Linked DNA regions of Homo sapiens: region 2 is linked to region 1. The links are contacts of gene promoters, found by promoter capture Hi-C in blood cells and fetal thymus (Javierre and others, 2016). All regions are on one chromosome and are shown on one strand. The core of a region is centred on a gene start or on the middle of the fragment in contact, and the rest is flanking DNA. Distances in the headings are between cores, read along the strand shown. Region 1 holds the start of MBP (myelin basic protein). Region 2 overlaps ZNF236-DT (ZNF236 divergent transcript).

What was found. Contacts are between HindIII fragments. The CHiCAGO score rates a contact against its expected background, and 5 or more counts as called.
Region 2: a fragment that was not itself captured here is called in contact with the fragment with the promoter of MBP in region 1 in 3 of 17 cell types (monocytes, erythroblasts and total CD4 T cells); the score reaches 6.2 in monocytes.

What each region holds. Positions count from the first base shown.
Region 1 is chr18:77,131,293-77,135,351 of GRCh38, forward strand. It overlaps MBP (myelin basic protein), which reads right to left and starts at 1,491. Exons shown (of 9, transcript NM_001025101.2): 1 at 1,288-1,491. RefSeq lists a silencer at 456-1,755. The HindIII fragment of the contact is 15,459 bases long and covers 1-4,059 here.
Region 2 is chr18:76,798,376-76,805,644 of GRCh38, forward strand. All of the region lies in intron 2 of ZNF236-DT (ZNF236 divergent transcript), which reads right to left. It also overlaps the pseudogene RNU6-346P. Among named protein-coding and RNA genes, the nearest start is that of ZNF236-DT, 20 kb to the right of the region's middle. RefSeq lists a silencer at 3,901-3,950. The HindIII fragment of the contact is 441 bases long and covers 4,871-5,311 here.

The DNA.
Region 1 (4,059 bases), core at 241-2,740:
CTTGAGGGTGACCGTCCTTAAACTGTCCCCCGGAGCTTCGCCAGATAAAATGTCCAAAACACACACTGGAGTTCCCTGACGTTTCCTTCCTCTGAAAAACTCTCTTTCCAGGCGGGGCGTTCTGTGGTCAGACGAGGCAGAGGCCTCCCCGGAACGAAGTCCACGCCCCCTCCCCACCCCAGCACCCAGCGAGCCCACGCGCCCCTCACCCACGCGCAGAGAAACCGAGCACTTGTTGATTCTCACGTTGTTGCAATTGGAAAACGGAACAAGGAACCAGAGCTCGCCTGTTTCCAGCCAGAGTCGCACGGGGGTCCCCAAAGACGCTTGAACCTTTTCCCAAGCCCCACTCCACCTTCCAAAACGGGGGGGCTCAGGTGGACGCGAAAGGACACAAGGCGCTGCCCCCAGCACCCCGGAAAATCTAGTGTGGCGGCAAATGACCGCAGGTCACACACCCCGGCCTCGGGGGCCACGGAAAACGGACGCACCCGGCCCAGGACAGGCAGTGGGGCCCAGGAGGGGACTGCCGGGAAGACCCGGGCGGGCCGGCGGGCGGCTGCGGGCGGCGCACGTGGGCCCAGGTGGGCGCAGCGACGGGCCCGGCCGAAGAGCCCGAGACAGGCCCTGCGAAGGCGGAAGCCCGGACCCGGGCTCTCCTGGCCGCCCCTGGAGCTCAGAGGGAGACTGCGCTTCGCCCCGGGGGCAGGGGCAGGAGCGCGATCGCGCGCGGGGCCCCCGGGGTGTGATTAGCAGGCGCCGCGAGCCGGGAGGACCCCCCAGCCCGCCCTGGCAGCCAGCACCCTCTCCACACCCGCCCAGAGTGGCCGCTTTTGACCGCCGTCCCCTCCCACCCTAGACTCCTCCCCTCAGCCCCACGGCCCGAGGCCGAGCGGTTTCAGCGACCCTGGGACCGCCGGGCCTGGCTGGAGTCCACCCCTGGACACCTGTCAGGGTCGGGCCCCGGCGCTGTAAACCCGCGTCTACACCCGCGCCCAGCCCCCGCGCAATGGGGATCGGGGGCGGCGACTTGGGTTCGGGTCAGGGAGGCCGCCGGCTGCTACCTGCTCGGCCACCTGCTCCGCTGCCTAGGTTCTCCCTGCGCGTCCCCAGCCAAGAAAGGGACCCGGAGTCCGGGCGTCGGGATAGCTCCTGTCCCCGATCTTGCGCCCCCGGCTCCCGCGGGGCTCCGGTCCGGGGTCCCGCCCAGGTCTCCGCGGTCCCCACTCGGAGGGGCACAGAGACAAAGGCGGCAGAGCAGCCCGCCCGTCCCCGAGGGTCACCCACCGGCGCTGCGCTCGTTGCTCCGAGGCCGAGGGGCGCCGCGGGGTCCAAGGCCCTGCTCCGCCTGCCCAGGCCCGGGCAGGCTGGTCTCGGCTTCAAGCGCCCACGCGCGGGGTCCCCGGGCAGCCTGCTTCGCCTTCCGGGGTCGGGAGACAGGGGCCGCCGGGGCCGGAGGCTGCTTCTCTCTGGCGCGCGGCGGCGGTGACTGACGGCGGCGGCTCCGAGGGACGGGCGCGCACCCAGCTCCCCGGCCCCGCCTCCCCGGGCTTCCTGCGAGCCAGGTAAACACAGGCCGATCCCGCCGGGCCCGCCCCACCTGGACGCGGCCGCCGGCGCCGCCCCGGGAGCTCGGAGGACCCCGGGCCCGCTCTGCCCACGCGGAACTTGGGGGGCGCACGGGGCCCACGCGCAGGGTCAGACCTCGGAGGGGCGGCCTGGAGCCTCGCCCGCTGCCGAACTGGGCTCCGAACTGCGGCCCGTCGACCCTTCCCGTTCGGAGGCTTGGCCTCCGAACCCACCCCGACCCCGACCTCGACCTCGCGGGAGGGGTGCCAGGCCGCATCTCCCCGCGTCCTCAGGGGCTGGAAACCCCAGAAACTGCCGATAGACTTGGCGCAGCCCCGGCCCTGCAGGAGGAGAGTCAGCCCGGCCTGGAGGCGAAAGGAGCCGGCAGGTCCTCCCAAGGCACTCCCTCCCTCCCCTGGAGCCCAGGCCAGGCCCATGTCCGGCTGGCAGGTGCTCCTCTGGGAGCTGGGAGCTGGGAGCTGGGAGCTAGGGGCGCACCTTCTCCTGCAGGACCGGCGCAGGAAGCGTGCGCGGAAAAGACAGCAAAACACGCGCAGGTGCGAGGAAGCAGCCTGGTCCTGCAGCCCAGAGACATCGTGGTCTTCGTCGCTGTCTTGTTAAAAAGAAAAAGCCTGCTGTTTAGCCGTGACTCACCTGCACACAGATTTAGTGGTCAGAGATCTTTCTCTGGATTCTCAGCCTCCTGATGGTGGAAGAGGAGGAGGTTGGGGGAGTCCCAGAATGAGGCCCCGCGTTCCTCCTGACCTACACCCCCAGTCAGGGATCTGGATCTGGAGCTTCCAGGGGACCTGGAGCAGCCTGGGACCCACACAGTTTGTTAGGAAGTGAGGGAGAGGGGTGAGCGCTGTCCCGGCCCGCGCTGGGAGGCGGGACTCAGACTTCAGCACGGGGTCGGGGTTTCGGCCTAAAACCAGCCTCCCCCAAAGCCCCGGAGGATTTAGCAACTGTCTTCAAATGCTGGCAACTGGAAGAGAAATACTTCCACAACGACGCAAAAGCATTCAGTCTGGTCGTTTCCTCAGGAGAGATTTTCAAGTGGAGGGGGCAGGAGGGTTCTGAGACTTTGAGGCTGAAGGTGAGGAGGGAAAAGGGTGCCAAAGATAGTGTGTTTCTCCAATTTTTCTGCCCCACAACCTCACTTTAAGTCAAGGATGAGCGGAGTGGGCGTGGGAGGCTGGACAGCTGCCCTAGGAGCACGGGTGGTGACAATGAACCCGGGTGCACCCAGGTCCCAGCTCAAGTCACTCAAAGCTCAGGCTGGGGAAGCTGGAACACTAAAATGGGTCCCATTTTAGATACCTGCTTTAGCATCAGAAACAGCTTTTCCTCCCCAAAATATCTCTTGGCTTTATCTCAGTGACTCCACAGGGCGGGGCCACCTTCCTGCCTGCAGATGTCCCTGTGTGCTGGGCTCTGGAGCGTCCCTCAGGCCACAGTGACAGCTGCACACGCGGCCTTCTGTTTGGTGCTCCTTCTGCTGGTGTTACAGTGGTTTCCTGAAACACTACATATGCCAACAGTCAGCCCTACAAATGTCAGGCTCCACAAGTTCCAGTTAAAAGTCTTTTTAAAGTATTTATGAAATTTCACCGTGCATATTTTGTTGGGATAGAGTGTCCACACAGATGGGCAGCCAGGCAGTTTAGAAAAGTCATGGATTCTTCAAAGAAAACATGTAGATAATACTATTTAATAAAACAGTGGATTCACATTTGGATCAACTGGTCTTATCTTGGGGGCTTTCATGCCCTCCCGGTTAGAAAAAGGACCCCAGGTTGAGGACAGTGGATGGAAGAAACAGAGGCTGGCATTTCACTGTCGAGAGACAAACTTTCACATGAAGATGTCCATGTAGCCCTCAGCAAAGTGACAGAGATTCGTTGTGCTGAATAAAATTGAAAGGCATCTTTTGACAAGTAACCCATCAAAGCCTCATTGTGTCTTTGACATTTCTAAGAAAATCACATTGCAGTTACCCCCATCTTTCACAAGGTACCGGAGAGCAGAAAGTTTGACCTATCCATCATCTCATATGGCAGCAAATAGCAAAATGTTTTGTGCATGAAATACACTCAATAAATTTTTGTTAAGCTGAATTAAACTCCAAATTACCCAAGCTAAAGGAAGTAAATGAATCTAAATAGTTTCCAACAGACCTCAGACTGCACGAACTTTGAGTTTTCTTTAGTTTCCTCATCAACAGATTTGTCTTTGTTATGATGTTTTGCTTAGGAAAGGACTGAACTTTTTTTTTTCTTTCTTTTTTTTTTTTAGATGGAGTCTTGCTCTGTGGCCCAGGCTGGAGTGCAATGGTGCAATCTCAGCTCACTGCAACCTCCGCCTCCCAGGTTCAGGCAATTCTCCTGCCTCAGCCTCCCGAGTAGCTGGGATTATAGGCAACCGCTACCATGCCCAGCTAATTTTTGTATTTTTAGTAGAGATGGGGTTTCACCACGTTGGCCAGGCTGT
Region 2 (7,269 bases), core at 3,841-6,340, 330 kb before region 1:
TTCTATAAAAAAAACTACAGCCAGTATAATAATTAATGGTCAAAGACTCATTTTTCTTTCTAATAGCAGGAAAGCAAAACAAATATTTCCTGTTACCATTTCTATCTATCATTATACTAGAGGTTTTAGCCAGTGCAATAAAGCAAGACAAAGAAATTAAAGGCTCCAGTTTTGGGGAAAAAGTAAAACTCTTTATTTGTAGAAAATACATTTCTTTCTTTCTTTCTTTTCTTTTCTTTCTTTCTTTTTTTTTTTTTTTTTTTTTGAGATGGAGTCTCACTGTTGTTGCCCAGGCTGGGGTGTAGTGGCGCGTGATCTTGGCTCACTGCAACTTCTGCCTCCCAGGTTCAAGCAATTCTGCTGCCTCAGCCTCCCAAGTAGCTGGGATTACAGGCACCCATCACCACACCTGGCTAATTCTGTATTTTTAGTAGAGACGGGGTTTCACCATATTGGTCAGGCTGCTCTTGAACTCCTGATCTCAGGTGATCCACTCAAACTTTTTGTGTATGTTTGTTAATTTTAGAATTAAAAAATCGAAAAATATTGACCAAGCACATATGAGAAAGGACCAAATTACAAAGACAAAAAATAATTAAATCATCAGAGCAAATGGAGAGGTTTAACGGAAGACATAGTAAAAGATAAAATTGGTGAATTACAAAATAAATCTAATAAAGTTACCCAGAATGCAGTATAGAGAGAAAAAGAGAAAATATGAAAAAAAAGTTCAGAAACTTGGAGAATACAATGACAAGGCCTGTCATATGGGTGTTGGAATTTCAGAGGAAAGAGAAAGAATAAGGCTAAGATTATATTTGTAGAAATGTTTCTAAGATGATTCCTCAGAAATAATTTCTGAGAGGCAAGGTGTGGTGGCTCATGCCTGTAATCCCAGCACTTTGGGAGGCTGAGGCGGGTGGATCACCTGAGGTTGGGAGTTTGAGACCAGCCTGACCAACATGGTGAAAACCTGTCTCTACTAAAAATACAAAAATTAGCCGGGCGTAGTGGCGGGCACCTGTAATCCCAGCTATTCAGGAGGCTGAGGCAGGAGAATCGCTTGAACTTGGGAGGCGGAGGTTGCAGTGAGCTAAGATCACGCCATTGTACTCCAGCCTGGGGCAACAGAGTGAGACTTTGTCTCAAAATAATAATAATAATAATAATAATAATAATTATTATTATTATAATTCTTGAGAATTTCTAATGAATAAGTAAATGGAATAAATAAAAAGAACCCACAGTTAGGCACCATAATGAGTTATCAAGCACCAACAACTAAGAGAAGCCTCCAAGGCAGCCACTGAAGACGATGGAGATGTCCAAATGAACAAAGATTATCTATTTTCATCACCCACAACAGAGGCAGAGCTAAAAATGGAATATTGTTAGTGGGCTCAAAAGAAAATAATTGTGTACCTAAAATACTATATGTAGAAAAAAAATATATTTTAATATTTAGAGCGCCGGGCGTGGTGGCTCTTGCCTGTAATCCTAGCACTTTGGGAGGTCAAGGCAAGCGGATCACCTGAGGTCACGAGTTCAAGACCAGCCTGACCAACATGGTGAAACCCCATCTCTACTAAAAATACAAAAAAAATTAGCCAGGTGTTGTGGTGCGTGCCTGTAATCCCAGCTACTCGGGAGGCTGAGGCAGGAGAAGTGCTTGAACCCAGGAGGTGGAGGTTGCAGTGAGCCGAGATCGCACCATTGCACTCCAGCCTGGCTGACGAGAGCAAAACTCCATCTCAAAAAAAAAAAAAAAAAAAAAAAGAATTAGAGCAAAATACGGGTGCAGTGGCTCACACCTGTAATCCCAGCACTTTGGGAGGCGGGGAGCTTGAGCTCAAGAGTTCATGACCAGCGTGGGCAACATAGTGAGACCTTGTCTCTAATAAAATTTTTAAAACGTTAGCTGGGCATGGCAGTGCATGCCTGTAGTTCCAGCTACTTGGGAGGCTGAGGCAGAAGGATAACTTGAGCCCAGGAGATGGAGGATACTAGGCTATGATTGTGCCACTGCACTCCAACCTGGGCAACAGAGTGAGATCTAGTCTCAAAAAAAAAAAAAAAAAAAAAAGAATTAGGGTAAGATAAAGACATTTTCAGTTAAAAAAAATGAGTGTTTGCCACTAGACATCCTCACTAAGAAAACTTGTAAAAAATATACCTGTATATCAGGCAGAAGGAAGATGATGCCAGATGAAGGTCAGACACACAAAAATGTAAGGATGAAAAACTGGCCAATACTTAGGTCTAAACAAACAAACAAAACAAATTAGACTACATAAAATAATCCCTTCTGCAGTTTATGTATTTTTTTTTAAGGGGCCATGCTAGTCTTCTCTGTATCGTTCCAATTTTAGGTGAATGCAAAAGTAATTGTGGTTTTTGCATTGTTGGAATTTGCTGTTTGATATTGGAATATGTTCTTAAATAAATATGTCATACATCATTTTAACGGGCATTTCTCGCTTTATTTTTTTTGCTAATGACATTACTTGCTGTTTATTTTACGTTTATTTTAGACTATGGAAATGATGTTAGACAAAAAGCAAATTTGAGCAATTTTCTTATTTGAGGTCAAAATGCAGAAGAGACAACTGGCAACATCAACAATTCATTTGGCCCAGAAACTGCTAGGGCACACACAGTGCAGTGGTGGTTCGAGAAGTTTTGCCAATAGATGCCGGCCTTCAGAAGTTGACAGTGATCAATTGAGGGCAGTCATCAAAGCTGATCCTCTTACGCTACAGGAGAAGTTGCCAAAGAACTCAACGTTGGCCATTCAATGGTCGTTTGGCATTTGAAGCAAATTGGAAAGATAAAAAGCTCAATAAGTGGGTGCCCCATGAGCTGAGCGAAAATTTTTAAAAATCATCATTTTGAAGTGTCATCTCTTATTCTACATAACAAGAACAAACCATTTCTCAATTCTATTGTGATGTGTAATGAAAAGTGGATTTTAAGTGCCGGAGCAGTGGCTCATGCCTGTAATCTCAGCACTTTGGGAGGCTGAGGCGGGAGGATAACTTGAGGTCAGGAGTTCAAGACCTGCCTAGCCAACATGACGAAACCCCATCTCTAAAAACATTAGCTGGGTGTGATGGCGGGGCCCTGTAGTCCCAGCTACTTGGGAGGCTGAGGCAGGAAACTGCTTGAACCCGGGAGGCAGAGGTTGCAGTGAGCCGAGATCGCGCCACAGCACTCCAGCCTGAGCGACAGAGCGAGACCCCTCTCCCTGCCTCCCTCGCCCCCCAAAGAAGAAAAAAGAAAGCACAGCCTTCCGTTGAGGCCTCTGGGCGATCCAGTAGGATAGGTCTAGGCGCCGACTGCGTGGGGACCACGCACGACCGTGACAGGCGCAGTCTTGAGGACACTGGCTTTGAGAGCAGCTGAGGGACTGGGCAAAGAAGGGGCTGCAGGTATGGGGGTCAGGCCAGCCCAGGGGAAGTGCGCACGGGTGTGCGGGGGGGTCATTCAGGGCCCTGACGGAGCTAAGGGGAGGATTTAGCCCTGAGTCGGCTCTGGGGTGTGGGGTGGCGGGATGGGGTGCCCTCCCCGGGGCCAGGGCGAGCAGGGTGCGGGGCTCCTGGAGGCTAGCAGGATTAAGGTCGTTTTTAGGATGAGTGAGCTCTGCAGGTTCCCTGCTTTCAACCCGGAAGGAACCTGGGCCCACGTGGGAGTGGGATTGGGGGGTGAGACCCGCAGCCCACGGAAGGGGCGCTGAGACGCGCGGCCGCGAGGGTCAGGGGTGCCCCACGGGAGCGTGCGGCTCATATTATTAGGAAGGTGTCCAGTGCGTCGTGCCCCGGCCGGGCGCCAGGTGGCGGCAGAGGCCGGTGCGGCGCAGCTTCTTCGGCCGCGGGACAGCGGTGCCCCCAGGGTAGGAGGCTGGGGCTGGGCTGGAGCAGAGCCGGAGGGAGGAGTGCGGCCAACAAAAGACCATCCGCGAGCGCCTGAACTTGGGTGTGGAGTTGTATTTTAGGATATGTTAAAAAGTTAGGAATATTAAGTAATTGGCACTTGGCCGGGAGCGGTGGCTCACACGTGTTATCCCAGCACTTCAGGAGGCCGAGGTGGGCGGATCACCTGAGGTTGGGAGTTTGAGAACATCCTGGCCAACATGGCGAAATCCTATCCCTACTAAAAATACAAAAACTTAGCTGGGCATGGTGGTGCGCGCCTGTAGTCCCAGCTACTAGGGAGGCTGAGGCAGGAGACTCCGTCGCAAAAAAAAAAAAAAAAAAAAAAAAAGGCACTTAATCCCAGACTGAAACCCTCTTTTCAGACTCTACATTAAGATCTTAAAGAACTTAGGCCCAGGCAGGCGGGTCACTTGCAGTCAGGAGTTTGAGACCAGCCCGGGCAACATGGCAAAACCTGTCTCTACTAAAAATACCAAAATTAGCCGGGCTTGGTGGTGCGAGCCTGTAATCCCAGCTACTCCGGAGGCTGAGGCAGGAGAATTACATGAACCCGGGAGGCAGAGGTTGCAGGGAGCCGGGATCAGGCCGCTGCATTCCAGCCTGAGCGACAGAGCGAGACTGTCTCAAAAAATAAATAAATAAAATAAAATAAAATAAAGAGCTTAAAGAACTTAAGAAAACACCAAATACTTCAGAGGTACCAGTGGCAATGTAATTAATGAGGATATTCAAGGAAGGTGACATAATTGCCAAGGTAAAAATAATTAAACAATTTCCAAAAGTCTATTTCAGTGAAGGAAACATTTGTCTTTAAGGGAAACATCAATGAAAATTATGTTTATGGCAAAAATGAGCCCTTTCTGCAAGCTTCATTTAGAAAATTGTGGGCATAATTACCATTTTACACAAAATAACTCTGTAGAAAGCTTTTTGAAATAAGCTTCTATTGAAATAAAATGCCAATTAATTACCCATTTAACTTATTAAATGAGAACTATAGGGTGCTAATTTTTAAATATTTTTTAAGTTGCTTTGAAATAATACCTTTTCTTTGAGACTTGAGAACATATATAGCTAATATGAACTGATGAAACAAAGATTTTTAATTACTTCTTTTATTATTTACCTATATATTCTGTATCAGTTAATTTCATTGCTTAAATTATTAATGTCTAATATGCCACTTGAAGCATTCATATTCTGAAAATGATGTAAGTTACACATGTAGGTTGGCCGAAAGTATTATATACTAGGACACAGCGGAGTTTGGGAGTGTCTGCTGCCTGTCCAGGAAGCTGCAGGTTTATGAGTTGTAAATGTAGGAGAATTCAGTTCAGTATAAATAGTTTAGCTTCCTGTTATATTAGGATAGGCAGTTAAGCTTATGTTTTTGCCATAGACAAATTATCATTATCTGTCAGGCCTACAGTTTAGGTTTTGACGTAACTCTTCAAGTACAAATGGAGAATGCATCCCCAGCAGCACTGCAGTCCTCGTTCACACCGAGTTTCGGTACAGTCAGGGGTTTTGAAGTCAGTACCACGGGAGACGCAGACGGAGGATGAATGAAAGGCACAGAAAAATCCTAAGGTAGAAATGGGGGGAACGGAAAAGCAGACAGACACTAGAGGGCGCAGGAGGAAAGTGGGTCGGAGTCCTGGAAGAGGAGGCGGGCTGGGTGAAGGAAGACAGTGAAGAGGGCACTCTGAAAAACCCATCCGAATCTTTCAGTGTAGGTAGGCACCACCCACAGCATGTTGTCATTGCAAACTGGTTCCTTCCATACGTCCCGAAAGGCTCTCCATGGTAGCTTACATCTCTCTATTTGACACTTGATGGCTTTCTTAAGGTATTTAGGTCCATTTACTAAAAATGACTCATCACTTGTTAATTAAATAAGGTTTATACATTTTTTTCATTTTAATTTCAAACATAGGAGATAAAGAAAAAAGGTGCTTGTGGCCAGGCACGGTGGCTCACGCCTGTAATCCCAGCTGAGGGGAGGCCGAGGCGGGAGGATCACCTGAGGTCAGGAGTTTGAGACCAGCCTGGCCAACATGGTGAAACCCTGTCTCTACTAAAAATACAAAAGTTAGCCAGGCGTGGTGGTCCTAATCCCAGCTGCTCGGGAGGCTGAGGTGGGAGAATCTCTTGAGCCTGGGAGGCAGAGGTTGCAGTGAGCCAAGATTGCGCCACTGCACTCTAGCCTGGGCAACAGAGCGAGACTCCATCTCAAAAAGAAAAAAAAAAAAAAGAAAAAAAGAAAAAAGAATAAAAGTGCTTGTTCACCCGTACTTTGTGCATGTCAAGTGATATTGAAAACCAAATCTGTAGGCTGTGCCTGGTGGCTGACGCCTATAATCCCAGCACTTTGGGAGGCCAAGGCGGGCGGATCACCTGAGGTTGGGAGTTCAAGACCAGCCTGACCAACACAGAGAAATCCCATTTCTATTAAAAATACAAAATTAGCCCAGCGTGGTGGTGCATGCCTGTAATCCCAGTTACTCGGGAGGCTGAAGCAGGAGAATCGCTTGAACCCTGGAGGCAGAGGTTGCAATGAGCCAAGATCGCGCCATTGCACTCTAGCCTGGGCATCAGGAGTGAAAAAAAAAAAAAAAAGAAAACCAAATCTGCAGACGAACTTGAGTGCCTGTGTAACAGGTTGTGTTGTCTGTTGTCTATTGTGTTGTGGACTTGTGTTGTCCATATGCCCTTTATGCAAGTTATTTACCAAAATAGCGCTTTTTGAATCGTGTTTTCCATTTACTATTTCATAAGACATAGTATGTATCTATATTATAAAGTTAAGAACAGCAGAAAAATGTATTTTCATTTTACAAGAATGACTTCAATTTAAGTTAGTTTTTATTCACCAAAATCCATAATGTTCCATGTGTCACAATAAAACAAAGCAGACTTTGCCAGCGTGAATCCACTTTTACTGAAGATGAGGGTCATTCATGGACCTAGAGGTTACAATAGTCAAAGTGTTCTGCACGAGAACAAACACACAGATGTCTTTGAAATGTGATGCAAAAGTGCAGACTGCTGCCTCCTACTGATGAAAAGGAAATGAGTGAGATGCTATGAGTCACTAATTGTGAACTAGTCAGTCGACAACTCCAAGAGCCCACTTCATGCTGGTGACGAGGTCCACCAACGATGGTCTGGCATGTGGGGGCCTTAGTTGAAAGACAGGAGAGGTGGATCAGAGACAGCTAGAGGAGCAGGCATTTCCCGAGTGCTGTAAAGGGGGACTCATCCCGCTAGGAGAATGTCTATTAGGGAATTCAGACCAAGTTCTGGGAAGGAATCCACAAGGAAGTCTCCGGGAGCA